Linked DNA regions of Homo sapiens: region 2 is linked to region 1. Evidence: promoter capture Hi-C in 16 types of primary human blood cells and fetal thymus (Javierre and others, 2016). All regions are on one chromosome and are shown on one strand. Each heading gives the region's core, a stretch centred on a gene start or on the middle of the fragment in contact. The rest is flanking DNA. Distances are from core to core; before and after follow the strand shown. Region 1 holds the start of GBX2 (gastrulation brain homeobox 2). Region 2 overlaps AGAP1 (ArfGAP with GTPase domain, ankyrin repeat and PH domain 1).

Region 1 (3,336 bases), core at 315-2,814:
TTTCCTCCAGGTCTGCTGGGTGGGCAGTGGGTCTCCGGCGGGACTCCTGGCAGAGGAGCTGATCTGGGATTAAGACGTCCCCCGGGGGGCCTTGGGGCTAGAGCGAGAGAAAGAGGAAGAACGCGAAAAAAGAGCTTCAAAGAATCGGGTCGATAAATTCATAAAGATCGATTTATCTTTATCTCCCAATTAAATGTGCTTGTAAGTGATACATAACACACGTCCAACACGGGCCAACTCCCCAACCACTAGCTCCTCGGCGTGAGCTGATTTTTAATGACCGAACTAACAATGCCCTTCTTTCCTTCTCCCCAACCCGGTGCTGTTGGCGGTTCAGGGCTGACGTCTAGACCCGGGAAGTTGAAGCCCGGGCCTTGGAGACTCGAGGAAGCCCCGCTCGCGCTGGTGCGCTCTGCACGGTCTGCCGTTGTCAAGAAGTGATTCCATTTTTAAAGGGAAGACAAGAGCTGAAAGTTTTTTGTTTGAAAATGGAAGAGGGGATAAGTACGTCCCTAGTTTCCCTCCACCCCAAAATTCCCTTACTTTCAAATTTGGGGGTCTTTACCGTTGTCGAGAACAGGGGAAACATCCTGAGGGGATCGGCTCCATCCTGCAGTTAGCAAAGAGGAACCGCGCGCCCTCGAGTCCTCGCGCTGGAAACCGGGCGGCGGCGCCAGGGTGAGCACTCCTTGCGTTCGCAACGTGCTTAATTAGCGCCTATTTACAAAACGCAGCTTTTATTTGAGCAAACATCATAAAGCTTTCATCAGGATAATCTCACGTTATACAATCTGGAGGCACAGCAACTCCCCCCTTCCTCCCCGAGGATGGAGCAGATAAAGGACTCTCTTTATTATCATAATTATCGTGGTTGTTATTTTGGTGCGCGCTGGCAAAGTGTGTAAATAGGTGCGATGATTAAGAATGTCATGAAAAATGAGAGACGGGATCGCTCACGGGAGGGCCCAGCCCGGGATGGGGGAAGCAGCAGCCTCCCCGCCCCACCCGGTGCGCGGACCTACAGCGAGCAACCCGGCGGGTTTCTGGCGGCGGGCAGGCGCTGCCAGCTCCCAGCCTTCGCCCCGGGGGTGGCTCCGGAGGGGCAGGACCCTGCCCCCAACTCCAGGACCCTCGCCCGGACCCCAGGCGCAGCCGGAGCACCCAGCGCTGGAGTGAGCCGCAGGCAGGTTGGTTCCATGGCAAATACAGTAAAAGAAATAAAGCGCCCCCGGCCCAGCCGTGGGGGTGCGGGCCCCGGAGGCTACCCTTCGAGGTGGCCTCGACAAGGCTGCAGGGCCCCAAGGTCCGAGCCTTGGAGGTGCCATCCGCCCGTCTCAAGTTTGCGCGGCACGGGCTAGGCATGCAGGCTCCGGCTCCCCGGCCCGCGCGCTCCGACGGTGGCGCCCGCAGCCCGCTCGAGGCCAGCTTGGGTGGAAAGGGCGGGGCCCCGCTTTCGCCCCACCCCCGCCCCGCTCAGCCAATGGCCAGAGGCGCCCAGCCCCACGTGAGGCGAGCCGGGCCAGGCGGCAGGCAAAATGTGAATGAGAAAGAGGAGCGCGATTTAAAGGTGCTGGCTGCGCCCGCCGGAGATAAGTACGCCGGCTTCGCGCGCTCCCCAGCGGCCCGCGGGAGGCGACGGACGGCGGGACGGACGGACGGACGGCAGCTTACCGGGGCCGAGGGCCAAACCCGCGAAGCGCGCGGGCTCCGACGGGCAAGCGGCGGACGGGGGCTCCGGCGAGCCCTCGGGGCCCGGGCGCCCTCTCCACTCCGGGGCGCACGGCCTCACCCCGCACACCCCCTGCACCCGCCCGGCATGCAGCGGGCCCAGGACTGAGGGGCGGAGGCGTCTGCTCTCCGGGTCCCGCTCGGCCCCTGCCCGGCGCTCCCGGCGGTGCTCCCGGCGTCCGGCGGGCTTCCCGGCGGCGGCGCGGCGCGGGGACTTTTCGCCTCTCGCTGGCCTCTACCGAGCGCGTCTATGAGCGCAGCGTTCCCGCCGTCGCTGATGATGATGCAGCGCCCGCTGGGGAGTAGCACCGCCTTCAGCATAGACTCGCTGATCGGCAGCCCGCCGCAGCCCAGCCCCGGCCATTTCGTCTACACCGGCTACCCCATGTTCATGCCCTACCGGCCGGTAGTGCTGCCGCCGCCGCCGCCGCCGCCGCCCGCGCTGCCCCAGGCCGCGCTGCAGCCAGCGCTGCCGCCCGCACACCCTCACCACCAGATCCCCAGCCTGCCCACAGGCTTCTGCTCCAGCCTGGCGCAGGGCATGGCGCTCACCTCTACGCTCATGGCCACGCTCCCCGGCGGCTTCTCCGCGTCGCCCCAGCACCAGGAGGCGGCAGCGGCCCGCAAGTTCGCGCCGCAGCCGCTGCCCGGCGGCGGTAACTTCGACAAGGCGGAGGCGCTGCAGGCTGACGCGGAGGACGGCAAAGGCTTCCTGGCCAAAGAGGGCTCGCTGCTCGCCTTCTCCGCGGCCGAGACGGTGCAGGCTTCGCTCGGTGAGTCGGCGGCGCGCGCAGCCGGGACGAGGGGGCGGGAGGAGGCGGGGGCGGGCCAGCGCCGGGTTCCCGCGGGAGACCAAGGGGGCGAGGCCGCGCCCCCGCTCGACCCCCGCGGGAGGAGCTGGAGGATGAGGCCCGGCTGTGCCGCTGGGCCTCCGGGGGACATTCAGAGCCACCCAACAAGCGGGGTCTCGGGAGGGGGGGCGTTTAGCGCCCGGCGACCAGCTGCTGCCCTGGGCCACATATCTATCTGACGATGCGTTTGGCCGAGGCCGCCTCTGCCGCTCCGCGGTGACCTGGGGTTCCGGGTAGGTTGCAGCCTCTAGGGGAGACGGGTTGGGCTGCGCGTCTCAGCCGTGCGTGTGCCCAGGGGCGCCCAGACTTTTTAAACCCCTTCGCTGGTCTTGCTACTTGTCTGGGAGAAACGGACTGCTGGGAGGCTGTGCCTGTGTGTTTGTGTTGGGGGTGTCTGGTGGGAACTTATAAGGCCACAAAACATCCCTTTGACCAACGTTGTCTGTCTCAAAAAAGATGGTCTGGGATCTGCACGTCCCTACGCCTCCACTCCGGTTAGGAAGCAATTGAGGTTCACTACATTTTCATGGTGGCGGTGGGGGGAGGATGAATCGTGAATCCCCCCATCAGTCCTCAACCAGTCCCCACCCCAGGGACAAAGCGGGCAATCTCTTGGGCCTCGCGCCTCCTGCTACTTCTCCTGACGCTGCCGAGGCTGGGAGGGTGCGGGGGAGGCATGGCGGCCCTTTGAGTGATGGTTCTGGGCAAAGGGCCGTCGCCTGTACTGCCTCCTCTCCTTTGAGCTTTCTCACGCTCC
Region 2 (3,336 bases), core at 265-2,764, 230 kb after region 1:
TGAATCTAGCCTTGACCACCGACCTGCTGCTGCGATAGGCCCAACTGCCTTCTGCCCCTGCTTCCTCATCTGAAGCGGGTAAGGCTCTGGCACTCATCTCCTCATCTGAAGCAGGGAAGGCTCTGGCACTCATCTCCTGGGGGCCTGTGCCTGGCAAGCAGTGAGTTCCATGAATGTTACATCACATCTACGCTGGTGGCAGCAGGACTGCCGCTGAACCGGCCGTGCCGCCAGGCGGATGCTCTGAGAAGCTGTGTGGAAAGCACCCTGAGGATCAGGCACTGCTCTGGGTTGGCTGCAGTGACCCTCTTGCAAACCAGAAACCGGCTTTCCTTTCTTTGGGAAGGATTCTTACTGAATTACTGTGCAACGCAGCAACCGCAGCTGGAAGGGGCCAAGGAAGCGAAACTTTCATTGTCCAGATCGGGGCTTCCTGACCGTGGCACCGCTGGTGTTTTGGGCTGAATAACTCTTGGCTGTGGGGGGCTGGTCTCTGCCCCGTGGCACACTCAGCAGCACCCTGGTGGCTTCTACCCACTAGCTTCCAGTAGCATCACCCTCCCCTATGTGACAACCAAAAATGCCTCCGGACATCACGAACTGTCCCAAGGAGACAAAATCACCCCTGGCTGCGAGCCCCTGGAATAGGTGAAGACACGCCGAGGGCCAGAGGGCCAAGAGGTCTGGTCCGGGCACTACAGCAACTAGCAACAATATCCTTCTCTACTCCCTGTTTACAAGCATTTCTAGATTTTTTTTGCCTTGCAACAACATGAAGATTTCTGGTCTTCGGGAATGAAATGTGCTGCCCCTGTTCGGTTTTGATCATGGGGCAGCATTTCACTGTCCTCTGTTTCCCCTGGTCAGCAGCTACTGCTGAAAATAGCTGATAGGAAGGAACTAAGGAGACAAAGTACAAAGTTACAACATTCTGATTGGGAGGAAAAAAAATCCACCTTTCACCCCCTGTGTCCAGTTACCCCAGGACGCTTCTGCCTGCTCCTCGGCCACATGCAGAGACAGGAAAGCAGGCTCCGAGCACAGAAGGGAGCGGGGTCAGCCTTTTAATTAGGCCGGCCAGCCTGGCGAGCCGAGCAGCCCTCCCGGCGGTGAGGCAGGGAGTGCCCAGCTTTGAGAGATGAGAGCCCAGGGGCCTTTAACACTGAGCTAAGCTGAAGGTTGATGACAACCCCCAGGGAACGCTTTTGAATGCCAGCCAAGATTTGGGAAGAATTGATAAAGGAAACTTCAGCATCAGTGAGAGAAGACAAAATGTCTATCCATCTTAGAACATATTTCCTTGAAAAGCAAGCGCTATCAAAAGACAAACAATTTTTATGATACAATGTTTTAGTACTAAGCATGCGTTTCTCCTTAAAAAAAAAAAAGCAGAGGGGAATGATTACAAGCTTTGAAATCAGAAAGATCTGGGTTTGAATTTTGGCTAATAATGATAAGTATGGTCTTGGTTTCTCAGCCTTTTGGAAGCTCAGTTATCAGAGATGATGATCCCCAGGGAAACGAGTGTTAGGCATGAAGGTCACAACAGCGGAGGCTGTCAACACATGTATTTCCTCCCCACCACGCTTCACTGATACCCTCCCATCAAAGAAGCTTCCAGGTCAGAGACCGGCAGTATCACATTACCGCCGCCTGCTGGTCATACACTAAAATTGTCAGTATAATATCCAAGAAGAGAAAAAAAATGCTCCAACTATAATGATTAAAATTGATGAATGGTGTGGACATGCTTGCTGGAAAGTGTGGTTCAAATGCATTGGCTCCGAAAGTAAGTGTGGGACAGACAGCTTCCGAAGCTGAAACTCATGTTTCGAACCCCCATCATCAAAATCGACGTGCAAAACATTTTTATAATGAGAAAAGACATTTAAAAGCTGGCAAAAACTCAAATGCTTTCCATTGAGGATCGGCTGCTTTATAACCACAGAGTCTACTGGAAAGATATAATGATTACGTGGCCAGAAGGAAACAGGGACCAGAGCATACACCCGTACACACACACATGTGATACACTCCTTCCATGTGGAAGATGGACATGGTGTTTGTGCTCGATGGTGACGAGGCTGCGTGGTGGCCTGGGGGAGGCCGAGGGAAGTGAGGCTCAAGAGCCACATGGAAGAGTCACGTGAAGAAATGCAGTATTAACAGTGATGGCCAGTCAGCGTGGCAGAAGATAAACTGTTGGACTGAAGCAATCGGGGATGGGGTGGAGCTATCAGAAGAACCTGACAGTCCAGGGCTGGGGGAGCGAGGCTGCCATGGCAACAGCATTAGCTGAGACCACCCGACGAGGCTGGCCCAGGCAGGAGCCAGCGGGGAGGGCCGGGCCAGGCTCACCCAGGTACTCAGGAGGCAGGCAGGCAGGTGAGCACTCTGGCCCTGAGGACAGGTGTGACGCATCTCAACGTGCATCTTGTCTTGAAGTAAGACAGGACGGCCAAGTATGCCACATACGACCCCCCAGGGCCCCTGCTACCCACAGTGATGCTGACTCGTGGCTAACGCTTCTAGAGGAAATTACCTATGGAGGAAATGATTAATCAAAAAAAATTACAGGCTTCCAATAAGATTCAAGAGAACCCTCAGCCAATAGTTGTTGCAGAGATAATTGTTCTGAATCTATCAATAAAGCAAAGCTGCCTCTTCATTGACTGCAAACACCAATTTCTTTCACCCAGGATTATAAGTTGGTGGTCACGGGCTCACTACTGCCATTACAGTGATAAACAGTTTAAACCACAACAGGATCTGACATGTAGATCAATTCTGGGTCCATAAAGAATCTACACAAGAGGTTGCAGGACAGGAATTTACAGCCACCAGTTTTTATTCTCTCTTGCTGCAAAAATTACTTCTGTCAAACACTTAGAAGAGTGGGAAAAAATGTAAAAAAATTAATTTTTCATGTACTCCTGGAACGGCCTTTTTCAATGCAGAGGCTCAAGATGAATATGTTTCTGCATTTAAAAAATTACGCTCAGCAGCATGTGGTACTCAGCAGAGGAGGGATCCAATCCTCCGTGCGGCTTGCAAGCCGGCAGACGGCAATTTGAAACCCTCAACCGAGCTGTCTGCATTTTCTCTAAGGGCAGATGCAGGTCTCATGTTAGCAACGCCAAATTATATTAGACATTTAATTTTAAACCTCAGGTACTTAAATGTGAAACCTTACAACAGTAATAGTCATAAAGCAGTGGGCATTCCATTTCACGAAATGGATTCTTTTCTTCTTCCCTTAATTTAAGCAGCACCTCCTGTTTTGTAGGTTGCCCCTACAAAGGAATCTATCTAATTAGGAGTTTCTCACAGCTGCTT

What was found. The method cuts DNA at HindIII sites, captures the fragments that hold promoters and counts their contacts. A CHiCAGO score of 5 or more calls a contact.
Region 2: a fragment that was not itself captured here is called in contact with the fragment with the promoter of GBX2 in region 1 in 4 of 17 cell types (M2 macrophages, M1 macrophages, endothelial precursors and 1 more); the score reaches 8.9 in M2 macrophages.

What each region holds. Positions count from the first base shown.
Region 1 is chr2:236,166,614-236,169,949 of GRCh38, reverse strand. GBX2 (gastrulation brain homeobox 2) reads left to right here and starts at 1,564. Exons shown (of 2, transcript NM_001485.4): 1 at 1,564-2,501. The coding sequence starts at 1,979. It overlaps GBX2-AS1 (GBX2 and ASB18 antisense RNA 1), which reads right to left and starts at 2,508. Exons shown (of 2, transcript NR_186035.1): 1 at 2,281-2,508. It overlaps LOC124906126 (a long non-coding RNA gene), which reads right to left and starts at 924. Exons shown (of 2, transcript XR_007088136.1): 1 at 566-924; 2 at 154-421. RefSeq lists an enhancer at 2,433-3,336. The HindIII fragment of the contact is 5,712 bases long and covers 763-3,336 here.
Region 2 is chr2:235,934,987-235,938,322 of GRCh38, reverse strand. The region is part of intron 12 of AGAP1 (ArfGAP with GTPase domain, ankyrin repeat and PH domain 1); the gene reads right to left. Among named protein-coding and RNA genes, the nearest start is that of GBX2-AS1, 230 kb to the left of the region's middle. The HindIII fragment of the contact is 205 bases long and covers 1,412-1,616 here.